Linked DNA regions of Homo sapiens: all the other regions are linked to region 3. The links are contacts of gene promoters, found by promoter capture Hi-C in blood cells and fetal thymus (Javierre and others, 2016). All regions are on one chromosome and are shown on one strand. Each heading gives the region's core, a stretch centred on a gene start or on the middle of the fragment in contact. The rest is flanking DNA. Distances are from core to core; before and after follow the strand shown. Region 1 overlaps CCDST (cervical cancer associated DHX9 suppressive transcript). Region 2 has its middle 13 kb from the start of SPRR2F. Region 3 holds the start of LCE3A (late cornified envelope 3A). Region 4 overlaps SPRR1B (small proline rich protein 1B).

What was found. The method cuts DNA at HindIII sites, captures the fragments that hold promoters and counts their contacts. A CHiCAGO score of 5 or more calls a contact.
Region 1: a fragment that was not itself captured here is called in contact with the fragment with the promoter of LCE3A in region 3 in 1 of 17 cell types (M2 macrophages); the score reaches 5.9 in M2 macrophages.
Region 2: a fragment that was not itself captured here is called in contact with the fragment with the promoter of LCE3A in region 3 in 3 of 17 cell types (M2 macrophages, M0 macrophages and M1 macrophages); the score reaches 7.8 in M2 macrophages.
Region 4: a contact is called between a fragment that was not itself captured here and the fragment with the promoter of LCE3A in region 3, in 1 of 17 cell types (M0 macrophages). The highest score is 5.2, in M0 macrophages.

What each region holds. Positions count from the first base shown.
Region 1 is chr1:152,227,429-152,230,785 of GRCh38, forward strand. All of the region lies in intron 1 of CCDST (cervical cancer associated DHX9 suppressive transcript), which reads left to right. Among named protein-coding and RNA genes, the nearest start is that of HRNR, 4.9 kb to the left of the region's middle. The HindIII fragment of the contact is 4,144 bases long and covers 1-3,357 here.
Region 2 is chr1:153,125,442-153,128,575 of GRCh38, forward strand. No RefSeq gene overlaps it. Among named protein-coding and RNA genes, the nearest start is that of SPRR2F, 13 kb to the left of the region's middle. The HindIII fragment of the contact is 3,336 bases long and covers 1-3,015 here.
Region 3 is chr1:152,621,597-152,624,774 of GRCh38, forward strand. It overlaps LCE3A (late cornified envelope 3A), which reads right to left and starts at 1,507. Exons shown (of 1, transcript NM_178431.1): 1 at 1,238-1,507. The coding sequence starts at 1,507. The coding sequence ends at 1,238. The HindIII fragment of the contact is 6,916 bases long and covers 1-3,178 here.
Region 4 is chr1:153,032,064-153,035,133 of GRCh38, forward strand. SPRR1B (small proline rich protein 1B) reads left to right here. Exons shown (of 2, transcript NM_003125.3): 2 at 264-837. The coding sequence starts at 283. The coding sequence ends at 552. Among named protein-coding and RNA genes, the nearest start is that of SPRR1B, 2.4 kb to the left of the region's middle. The HindIII fragment of the contact is 1,757 bases long and covers 680-2,436 here.

The sequences.
Region 1 (3,357 bases), core at 434-2,933, 390 kb before region 3:
AGCAAGGATAAACAGTGAAGTTCCAGTACCATCTGTGTGCACTCATTTTTTTCTGCCTGTCTGGAAGGCAGAGTAATGTGCCTATTGCACCATCTGCTGGGTCATAGGGAAATTCTAAAGCAGATCTTTTCTTCATTGCCTTTTCTGCCCTTTTTCCTTACAGAAATTATTTCATGGAATTTCTATAGTTCTTTGTAGCCTAGTCTCTATAAATGAGGAGACTATGTAAAAAATAGGGGTATGTATATAAGAGAAGGTTGATGGTCATGATTTTGGGTAAATGGAATCAAAAGAAGTTAGCTATAATATGAAACTGGTTAAATAGTGCTTCCTTCTATATCCTCTTTTGAGTCCTTTTTACTGTTATCTCAAAAAATAAAAAATGGATTCGATATAATTTTACAGCTTAGTATATATTCCCTGGGGATGAGACAGGCATGGTGACATATCTTTCAGCTTCAGACCCACACCCTGGAATATATTCTGCTTCAGTACTGGTCTGCCTATTGAGTTGTTTCTTTCTCCCTTAATATCCTCCATTTTCTCTTCCGAGAACTCCAAAATGCTTCAAATGCTGGGAATCCAGAGCTCATTCATACATGTATCCTTTTATTTATTCCATCAGTATCTTTCTCTAATATATATATATATATATATATATATATATATATATATATGAGAAAAAAATATATATATAGTTTTTTTTTTTGGGTCTCACTGTTGCCCAGGCTAAAGTGCAGTGGTGCAACCATGGCTCACTGCAGCTTCCAACTCCAGGGCCCAAGTGATCCTCCCACTTTAGCTTCCCGAGTAGCTGAGATTATAGGTGTATGCCACTGCATCTGTCTAATTTTTATATTTTTTTGTAGAGATGAGGTCTCACTGTGTTACTTAGGCTGTGTGTTCTTATCTTGATGTTTGATGCTCTTACTGGCTTGGTATTCATAGTCTCTATCCCTTAGTTCCTACTACCTGAAACATTCAGCATGCAGACCTGGTCCATTAAAGTGGACAAATGGAGAAGAGTGACTGGAAGCGATTCTCACAAACACTTCAAGTGTTAGAAATGGTACCAAAAAAAAAAAAAAAAAAGCTGAGATATAAGGACCTTGATTGTTGGAAATCAAATCCAGAACATTTGCCTTTCGATGTGCATGCGTGCGTGCGTGCGTGCATGTGTGTGTGGCAGGGGATAGTGGTGGGATAGCAGATAGAGAAGGGAGAGTGAGGCATTGTAGTATGAATGTAATGAGTAGCAAACTGATCAGACCTCTGTTTCCTTTCTGGCCTCATCTTTCACCACTCTCTCCCTTGTGGTACCCTGCTGAAGCCATATTAGCTTCCTTGCTATTCTCCAAAACCTCCAGGCATCCTTCTTTTTAAAAGAATTTTTGCCAGAAATGCTCTTCCCCTAAATGTCCATTTGGCTATATCACTTATCTCCTTCAAGTCTCTGCTCAAATACCACCTTCTCAATAAAGCCTACCCTGACCCTTCTATTTGATATATACTTCTAACATACCATATGGTTGGCTTATTTACTAGGTAAGGTTTTGAGCAGAGGAGTGGCATGATCTGACTCACTGCTATGTTGATACTAGACTGAGAGGTAAGATAGAATAAGGAAGATGAGTCAGAAGACAGATGAAGGAACGGAAGTAATCAAGGCTTCTGACTTGGATGGCAGTATGTATGGTGGTAACATTCACGAAGAACAGCAATACATTTTTTGCATTTTTAGTAGAGATGGGGTTTCACCATGTTGGCCAGGTTAGCAGGGCGTGGTGGCATGCTCCTGTAATCCCAGCTACTCAGGCGGCTGAGGTGGGAGAATTGCTTGAACCTGGGAGGTGGAGGCTGCAGTGAGCTGAGATTTTGCCACTGCACTCCGGCCTGGGCAATAGAGCAAGACCCCATCTCAAAGTAAATAAATAAATAAAAAGCAAAGCAATAAATGAGAAAGAGAAGGTATGAGATGAGGGGAAATAATGATGAATTATCATCTAATTTATTTCTATCATCCATTTCCATCTCTTAATAACTGAACTCCTTAAAAGAGCAGTCAGCACTCCTTGTCTCTGACTCCCGTAACTTTCACTTACTCTTCAACACTTTATAGGTTGATTTTCACAGCTTCTTTCAGGCTTTTTGAAGGGCTTTTCTTCCATGGTCTGTGCTTAAATGTTTTTACTCTCCAAAGCTCCATCCTTAGCTCTTTGCCTGTTTGGATCAGTTTCCAGTCTTACCATTTATAAAGTAGGGTAATGGAGCAGAATAGAGACAAGACACATTGTTAATTCATAAATTTTTGTTGGCAATATTTATGCAATTGGAATGTCAAAACTAGAGCGTTAGAAGCTCTGTCTATAAACTCAAGCATATTGCAGTCAGTCACAGTGATCTGATGATACTATAAGACTTAATACATTTCTGTACAAGTTATGTAAAATATAAAATTTGGCAGAAACTTCAAAACTTGAACTTTCATATTTAATGCTCTAGTTGAAACCCAACAACAAAATTTTTCTTTAATATTAAAATTTAAACTTACACCACTTACATATGCTAACTGAGGAGGGCAAGTATGCACTGTCCTTTAAAAGAAGATCAATATTAAGTAGAAGAATTAAGGTAGGATTACATTTTTAAAGAAAAGGTTAGAGCCAGATAACTTTGTCCTCAGAAAGAACTTGTCACAATAAATTCCTGTTTTTTATGTTTTTCTTCTCGTCTTGGTTTTTGAGTTAGTTCCTCTCCTGTTGGTGTCTCACTTATTAAGGTAATGGTCACATTGCTTGTCGATATATTTTTAGAGTGTAGCATTGTTATAAAAAATAGTAAAAACTTGTTTTTGCTTGCTTTCATTGTTACTTGCCACAGAGCTTTTTTTTTAAATTAGTATCTTCTGTGTACATGTCAATGTGATTTATAGATATTTAGACATTAACTGTTCAAATCCTTAGGTGAAATATTAGTATTTCTGTCTTACAGACAGTGAAATTGAGGTTTGACGATGTTAATTAACTTGCAAAATCACATCAATACTAAGTGGCAGAAGTAGAATTTGAACTCAGGTTTCTGACTTTAAATTAGGACTCTTAACTCTTAAAAGACTCAACTCTTAAAGTGACAATTACACTGGGCAAGAATATTTAACACATGCAGAATGTTAGTCTGAATCAACAGTATTGTGTATGTGGAATTGTGTAATTATACATGTCTTATAAAACTATCATAATTAATGATAATAATAGGCTTTATAATTATAATTTACTAACCTAAGTTATATAATATAAATATGGAGTTACTATTTGATTAGCAAAAATGTTAATTCCAGTTGTTTTTGCTTGCTTCTTT
Region 2 (3,134 bases), core at 98-2,597, 500 kb after region 3:
TATGTTAAATTACCAAACCTAAGAATAATTTGTGCTCCCAAGGAAAAAGAGGAATCTAAAAATTTGGAAAACATATTTGAGGGAATAATCCAGGAAAACCCCCCTGGCCTTACTAGAGATCTAGACATGCAAATACAAGAAGCTCAAAGAACACCTGAGAAGTTGATTGCCAAAAGATCATCACCTAGACACATAGCCATCAGGTTATCTAAAGTCAAAACAAGAAAGAATCTTAAGAGCTGTGAGGCAAGAGCATCGGGTAACCTACAAAGGAAAACCTATCAGGTTAACAGCAGATTTCTCAGTAGAAACACTACAAGCTAGAAGGGATTGGGGTTCTATCTTTAGCCTCCTTAAACAAAATAATTATCAGCCAAGAATTTTGTATCCAGCAAAACTAATCTTCATAAGTGAAGTCTTTTGCAGACAAATGCTGAGAAAATTCACCACTACCAAGCCAGCACTACAAGAACTGCTAAAAGGAGCTCTCAATCTTGAAACAAATCCTCAAAATATACCAAAATAGAATCTAATCTCCTTAAAGCACAAATCTCACAGGACATATAAAACAACACAATGAAGAAAAAAAAGGTATTCAGGCAACAAATAGCATGATGAATAGAATAGTATCTCACATCTCGATACTAACATAGAATGTAAATGGCCTAAATGCTCCACTTAAAAGATACAGAATGGCAGATTTTAGACCAAATCTATGTAGGTTACAAATGGGAGCAGTTTTATCAGCAGTCAGGTAGACAGGCTGCTGATAAAACTGCTCCCATTTGTAACCTACATAGATTTGGCTTCTTTAAAGGTCACAAATGGTTTTAGCTGGGGATGAAATGCCTTCCCTTAGCCTTCTTCACATTAGTAAACATAAGAGCACCCTGCCTTACAGTCATAACCAGGACCCTTGGAGCTTTGATAAAAACTGCACTGTCTTATACCACCAAGAATCTTCCAGAATCTCAAGAAATTCTCCATCTAATTAGGTCTGCAAGGGGCTTGGTCTTTGGCTGGTAAGATGGAGGTTTTCTGTTCGTATCTGCTGAAGTATGGTACAGTATTAAGTCTTACAGGTCTTCCACAAGCTGACTTATCTTGATTGCTCCAAACATTAAAGGGCAAATAGAGTTTGGCTTATTACTTCCCATCTTTTCTCATGCTATCTTCAAAAAGTTCTATCCATTAACCTCATCATTTAGTATGCCAATGAGCAATTATATTTATGTACTTTTATTAACTATTTTTTGAATATATTTTGGTTATTTTGGTTAAATATATTTTGGTTATTAATAATGGTGAGATGTTCTTCATTAGGTTGTGATTAACTTTGCATTATTATTAACTACCTTTCATTTAAGAAGTTCACTATGAATTATCATTGCTTCAAAATGTTATTGATGTTCATATTTGTTAACATTGTTCCCAGTTAGCACACAATTTGAAGGGATTAAGTGTCATCTGTGTAATTTTTATTTTCTCCATAAAATAGAGCAGCAGATAGAACAGAGAAAATATCAGGCAGGTCCTCAAGAGACCTTAGTTCTGGCCCCAGGTCAATCATTGAGAAGCAGGGTCTCCTTGGCCAGTCTTGCCCAGGATCTTTTTCTGAGCAATGGAGATGAGGTGTAGGTGAGGATGACACAGGAGTTTTCACTGACCCTGCTCCAGTCTCAATGACTCTACACATTTTCTTCCTCTCACAGAGCCTTCTCTATAGTCTATGATCCCTTTTCTTTAAATGCTCATTTCTTGCCTAAACCTTGAGAGCATCTCTCATTAGGATTCATTACAGAATGGGATTCTGGCTTTTCAGCACTCTTCTACTTTGCTGCCCTCAGAATGAAGACTAGAGTTCTTTTTTTTTCAAGATTTAACTATTTTTCATTCTTGTATAGAAAAATAAAATGTAAACCAAAATCCCAAGCATTCCTTCATTGACAAATTGATAAGCCACATGTGCTCTACAACAAAGATCATGACTATATCCCTGCCTTTTCACATACTTGCAGGCTAGTGAGAGAGACAGACCACAACAGCACAGGTTATAACAAGTATTTCCTGAGATGGCTGCTAGGGACCTCTGCTCTCTGCTTCCGTTCTGGAGAATGTGATCTTCCTGCTTTCAGCTAATAACTCCTGATCAATCCTTCTTTTGTCATGGGCTTTCTCCCAACACCTAACACTGCGGTTGCAACTATTCCAAAACAATAGGTTCCAACTAATTTCCCCTCAGGCACCTATTATAACTTGTATTTCTCAGCTTTTTTATTTTCTTATAGTTTCCAACACTTAACGAGACACTTAATGGAGTTGATTTAGAATAGTATGAAAATGCTTTTGGAATGGGCAAATCACCTGACCATCCAGGGGAAGCTGATCTAAGGGTAGACCTGTGTCAGCTAGAAATCAAGCACAGAATAAAATATATTAACTATAAGGAAACATTTTGACTCAATCTTGACCTTTTCCCATTTTCACACATATTTTTAAATCAGTTTATTTAGTTGGGTTTTTAATTAGGATTTGGTTTAAATCCAGACATCAACGTGGGAGAAAGTTGATGCTTCCACAATTTTGAGTCATGAATTCACACACATGGTTGTCACTCTATTTCTACACAAGAAAATGTTGCACAAATTTTGTTAGATTTATTTCTATGTCCTTCACATATTTTTACACATTGATTCATATTATACAATTTTATTTTCTAAGTGTTTGCTCTAACATGCAGGAACAGAGTTGTTTTGGTTCCTGATTTTGAATCCAGCACTTTTTTAAACCCTCATATTAATTATAATAGTTTATTTGTAATTCTTTTACATTTTAATCTACAGATTATCTTTTACAAATAGTAATAATTATTTTTATTTTGTTGTTTTTGGTTGCTATTATTGTTTACCTTTCTAATCCCTATTCTTTGCATTTCTTTTCTCTTACCTTAACTGCATTGTTGAGCACCTTCAGCACAATTTTGAGTAGACACAGGGAGAACACCCATGTGGATAAAGCTTTCACTAGATGACCAATAAGAATAATATTTGTGATAGGCTTTTTGTAGGTGTCTCTTGTTTAGATTAAATAAAATCTTTTCCAGTGCTAGTTTACTAAGCACTTTTTTCTTTTTT
Region 3 (3,178 bases), core at 257-2,756:
TCAGAAAACATCTGGGCATCTACTGAATAATTATTGAATTTCCTACTGAGGGGCTAGAGTTTGAAGAGCTGTTACTTGGAGTAGAGTCCATCACTATCATCACTCTCCATGTCCCATCTCCTTTTTTTCTGATTCTAAATCAAAGTAGGAGGAGAAAATACCTTGATCAGCAAACATTCTGAGCCAATTCATCCCTGCCCAAGGCCCTGTTTCCCTGCTGCCCTTAGGTTAGCAAAAACGTGAGCTTAGGGTCATAGGGTCAGGGTCTGAGAAAGACGGTGAGGGACAAGGGGAGACAGATAGGTAGATAGAGATAGATAGATAGATAGATAGATAGATAGATAGATAGATAGATAGATAGATAGAAAACAATGATTTACTTTTTCATTTCTTCCAGGGATCACTGAGCTGAGATGTCCTGAAAGGAAAAACTAACAGCACTGTCAGCCCCCTCCCAAGTGCCTAACCCTCAAGTATCCTTTTGGTTGTTTGCTGCCAGTCTATTTCTGTTGTGGTTCCAGCTCTGCAGGAAGCTGCTACCGGAGTCACCATGGGCCCACAGATCCCACTGACATGCCCAACAGAGCATTCTGGAGGCTCCAGTTGCTGCCACAGCTCTGGGGGCTGCTGTGGTCCTGGGTCATGAAGACTACAGAGTATCAGAGTTGGAGGAACCAGAGGACCAAGGACCTGCTCCCATCTGGAGCTTCTCTTCTTCTCTGCCATCTAGGGCTGAGCTACCAAAGTGTTTTCGGAAGGATCTGAACGGGCCCAGTAAGCTCATTCCCTTTGTTTTCCAGAGCTCTGTGTTTATTTCCAACTCATGCTTCTGTCCTTGACCTTGTGAAAGACTGCTCACCTCATTCCCACACTAATATACAACCCCCCTAAAAGGGTTTTGTGAGTTGAGGGGTGTATGACCCACTTGTGTCTGTTCCTAAGATAGGCCTATGTACCCAATGTGGGGCAGCCCCTGTAAGGCAAAGACGGGAACGCACTGGACAGAGCTTGCAACGAGAAAGCACAGCTTTATTCTTCACAGCACAGGGATATTAAAGAAGGAGGGAAAACACTAAGACCAGCAGGATAAATCCCCTGGGGGAGTACTTGAAACTCATCAAGGAACATCTCAGTAGGAAAGAGGAGACAGGAGCAAAGAAGCACCAGGCTAGGGCTGGTTCCAGTCATTTTGGCACTTTCTTTTCTCAAATATTTTTACTTAATCTCGTGGCTCAGGTCAGCAGCAGCCCGCAGAACTGTGGCCACAGCTGGAGCTCCCGCCTTGCTGACCACTTCCCCTGTCACAGGAGTTGGAGCTCTGGCAACGGCAACGGTGAGACCTGCGGCATCTGTGGTGACTCAGGCAGCAGCTGCGCTCGGAGCTGGGCCCACAGCCCCCAGAGCTTGGGGCACAGCTGGAGGAAGCTGGAGGCAGACACTGTGCTGGGCTCTTTGCAGGGCACTTGGGCGGAGGCTGGCACTGCTGCTGGTTCTGCTGGCAGGACATCTAGGCAGGAGGTCAGGGAGCCTGGGCAAAATAAAAGCAAAGCAAAATACGTGTCAATGCAGGTTTCAGGCCAGGGCCTCCTCATGCTTTGGTTTAATTGTGGATCCCTTCCCCTAAACTCAGTCTGCCCTCCAGCTAAGACCTGGGGAAGGGGAATGCAAACGGATCTGAAGTTAAACCGGCCTGATACTGCCCCTTCCTCCGGCCCTCTCCCCTGCCTGGGAGGCAGCTGACACTCCTGGGTGGGCCTCTGGGGCTCCTGCGCACGCCCTGCGGGGCCTGTCACACCTCCGGACCCGATGCGAACAGCTCCCCCTGCAGGCGTCCCGTGAACACAACGCCCATGACCCTCCAGGGTGGCGTCTCTCTGGACGCCTGTGAGCGCAGGGTGTGAGGAGGCAACGCATCTCTGCGCACATGAGGAAAAGGGGGTTCAGAGGTCGCAGCATCGCGGAGCCCCTGAAGTGGCTCGCAGACTTGTCTGTCTTCCTCACTATCCCGCCCATCTCCCATCCCAGTCCCAGCCGGCCACCCACCACAGCCTCTCTGCCGCCTCCACCGTGTCTGCCTCCTCCCCTCTCCTTGTTGAAGCACAGACGTGTTTGCGCAGCCCTTTCAGCCCAGGTCCTCTCGCCAGCTGGACGCTCACCTGGTTTGGTGGAGGCAGGAGAAGGTTCTTCCTGAGGTGATTGTGGACTGAGGAACCCAGGGCCTCAGCCCTTTTATCCTGGGTATTATGATGCACAGCCCAACTATGTGTCCTCCTTTGCTCCCCAAAGGGAGGGGAAGCACCACACACTCCCAAGGACCAGGCTTTCAGCATATTCTTAAGGCGCATATTTTGAGGAATGACAAAAGGGAAGCAGGAAATCTCGATGACGGTCCAATTATCCACCGTTCAGGCCCTCTGGCTGCTGTTCCACTTTTTTTTCTTCATTCAGCTCACATGCTCTGAAGCCAGGGTACGTCCTTTGTGGGGCCTGGTAATATGGGGACAAACAGAACACATTTCTCCCCTTGACTAGCTCACAGCTTTTCAGAAGGCCAGATGGACAACTGAGCAATTAAATCACATCCTATGTGCTAAGCGACGCAGCACAAGTGTGCACAAACATGGCAGGCTGGGGTCACTGCCTTTGGGTGTCAGTCCCCATTGCTTTGTGGATTCCTTTACATAGGTGATGGAATCAGCCCCTGTGTCCTGAGATGTTGGCTGCACTGAGCTCACTGGACCTGGGTTGAGTAAGGGGTGGAAGAATGGAGCTGGGGCCATGGCTTGAGAGGTAGTGTCTTCAGGGAATATCATGGCATCTTAAAGGTGGCATTGGGCACTGTGGGGGCAGAGGGGTAGAGTGGAGGGAGGTGCAGATGGTATAAAAATGTGACCTCCATCTGTGGGATCAACAGAAATCACACTTAATGGGAAAAAAGGGGCATCCGTTTTTGGCTGTCTGTGAAATGTGCAAGGCTGAATTTAATCCTATATATTATGTTAGTAATTCATTAAAATTTCTTTGAATTTGTTGATAATGATGAGGTTGATGGGGTTGTATGCATTTCACTTAATGAATACCTGTGATAATGCTTGAAGTTTGTATATGATGAATTCATAAAAATGGAATATTATTTACTATTTGGTTTTAGTTATATCAGTGATAAATTTATCAGTGA
Region 4 (3,070 bases), core at 308-2,807, 410 kb after region 3:
CCAGTATTATGAGTCTCATATTCCTGCTAGAAGCCTGTTATTGTGCTGTGTAGGAAGAAAGAGAGCACCAGGAGAGGCCCTGCTCCAGTGGAGCAAGAGCAAATCATCTTTAGGTTCCTCTTCTTCAAAGGCTCAGAAATTAAATTAAGTATTCTTTGTGGTCAAGAAGGGGAAAGAACATAGCTTTTTAAGAGACCAGAAGTGGTATTCACCATGGCTTCTTCCCTATTATTCTCTGCTTAAATCATCTGTTCTGTGTCCAGGACCAGTCACTGTTGCAGCATGAGTTCCCAGCAGCAGAAGCAGCCTTGCACCCCACCCCCTCAGCTTCAGCAGCAGCAGGTGAAACAGCCTTGCCAGCCTCCACCTCAGGAACCATGCATCCCCAAAACCAAGGAGCCCTGCCACCCCAAGGTGCCTGAGCCCTGCCACCCCAAAGTGCCCGAGCCCTGCCAGCCCAAGGTTCCAGAGCCATGCCACCCCAAGGTGCCTGAGCCCTGCCCTTCAATAGTCACTCCAGCACCAGCCCAGCAGAAGACCAAGCAGAAGTAATGTGGTCCACAGCCATGCCCTTGAGGAGCCGGCCACCAGATGCTGAATCCCCTATCCCATTCTGCGTATGAGTCCCATTTGCCTTGCAATTAGCATTCTGTCTCCCCCAAAAAAGAATGTGCTATGAAGCTTTCTTTCCTACACACTCTGAGTCTCTGAATGAAGCTGAAGGTCTTAGTACCAGAGCTAGTTTTCAGCTGCTCAGAATTCATCTGAAGAGAGACTTAAGATGAAAGCAAATGATTCAGCTCCCTTATACCCCCATTAAATTCACTTTCAATTCCACTCTTGACTGTGTGTCATTGACTCTACAACTTCATTCCTTTCCCTCGTGAAGCGGGAGCTGTACACAGAGATGAGTTGGTGAAGAAGGGCTTTGTCCAGAAGGCATCTGATGCTCACATTAGGAGGGTGAAGGGCTGCCCCCACAAGCATTCCTGGGCTGCCTATGGGAGGTTGTGTAATGCCACCTAGAGGCTGTTGCTTTGGGCATCCAGGGCTGGAAAAGGGCTCTCCTCTTGCAACTCAGTGAGTCATGCTAGAGTTTAGTTAGCACTTGTCTAAGCTGACTCTGACTCACTAATCCTGATTGCCTTCTCTCCAAATCTGGCTTTTAGACTGCTAACTTACCAGCCAATTCCTGTTTATTTCAAGTAATGTTGTTCCTACATATGCTAACCTGCTCCTTCTCACTCATTTCTCTGATATCTACAACCTAGATTTCCAAACACCTCCAAAGATGCACAGACTCCGTTCTTTATCTCAGTTAGTCATTTCTAGTTTCTGAGTGCCAACTCTGGACCTGAAACAGAACAAAGGGGATTTAAGGTGCTTGCCAGGGGCATTTACAGTGCCCTGGAGGGATATACTTCACTCCCTACCCCACCCCTCATTCAAACACACATACACACATATACAACCACACACACAAGATCTGGAGTCCTCACAGAGTAATGCACAAAAGCTGATCCAGTTTGGAGACTGTTTCTTTCACATAGGTGGGAACCATGGAAGTGAGAACTGTAAAACCCACCCTCACCCCTCTCCCTGTAGTATCAACATGTTTCAAGTCAAATTAAACAAGATAGAGTTATCAACAGTGTATTCATATATATATGCATATATTTTTATATTGATGGAAAAATAGGTTGCTCTTGTATGTAACTGGGAGACAAAGCAAGTTGTTCTGCAGTAGCATAAAAGAGATTCTTTTTCTTAGGATGCAAAATGAAATAATAAAAAAATTACATGCCATTGGTATAACTCAAGAAATTGTGATATTTTTGATCACGGCATTTTTACTTGATTGCATTATTTAAAATTACAAAGCCTATATGAAAAATATTTGCCCTAAATGTTGTATTGCCCTAAGGGTTTTTTTGTTTAATTAGTAGGTAAAATCTACCATCATATCCAAATATAAGTGCCTCTAGCACCTAACCAATTAACCAAGCAGAAAAAAAAGTGTTGTAATCATGCGATTATTAGTCAGCATAGGTCAGCTGCTATAACAACACCCCCTATATTGTTGGGGCTCCATCAAGTAAAAGTTACTTTCCACTCATATAAAAGTCCAATATGGGTTTGTAAAGTCTTTGTTCCACATAGTCATGAAGACACACAGTCCTTCCTTCCTATGGTCTCACTATCTCTGAGTGCTGTGCTTTATGAATCCAAGCACAAGAACAGGGAAATAGACTGAATATAGAGAAGGTGTCCCTGCACTTATCCACTTGGAACAAGAAATGGCATGTATCCCCTCAGTTCTTATGGACTTGGCTAGAACTTGGTCACATAGCCCTGTCAACCTCACAAAGTTAAGAAATGTCGTTTACTGCTGTGCTTAGAAATAAGAGGAAGACAGAGATTTGGGTGAGCTCCTCAAGCTTCAGCCACAGAATAGCCTTCTTGTTCTCAAATATCCATCTGCTCCTTTGTCTCATAAGCAGAACACAATCCCGTAAGGAAAAAAAGCCTTATGGTCCCCATCAGCTCAAAATCTAGGATCTCTAGATGACATGAAATTCTCTCCATTACATTTTCCTATGGCTCCTTTTGTTCAGCAAATTATGAAACAAACAAATGGGCCATTTCTTCCTGTTACCCAGCATCCAATGGCAATGCAGGTACAGGAGAGCTAAATCAAAACTACCATGTTCAAAGGAAGATAATGGTGACACATGGCAGCCACTAGGCCTTAGTACTCTGAAATCCAACTGGGCAGGCATTGTGAAGCCACACTCTTCCCACTCCAATATACCAGAAGTGGTAGAAGTTCCTTTTAAGGTATTGATTCTGTTCTCTGAAAGGAACTCCTTTTAACTTTCCTATTCGTTGTTCTGCCACCCGTAGAATTGTCCTTTTCTTAGTACTATTCTCTATAATCAAACCTCAAGTGTGCATTGTGGATTGCGCCCTTCTTGGTTAGGTAAGCTTTGCAGCTCACTTTTCTTTTTTAAGTTTTTTATTTTTTTCTTTTCTATAATTTCAACTTTTATTTTAGATTCAGGAGTCGATA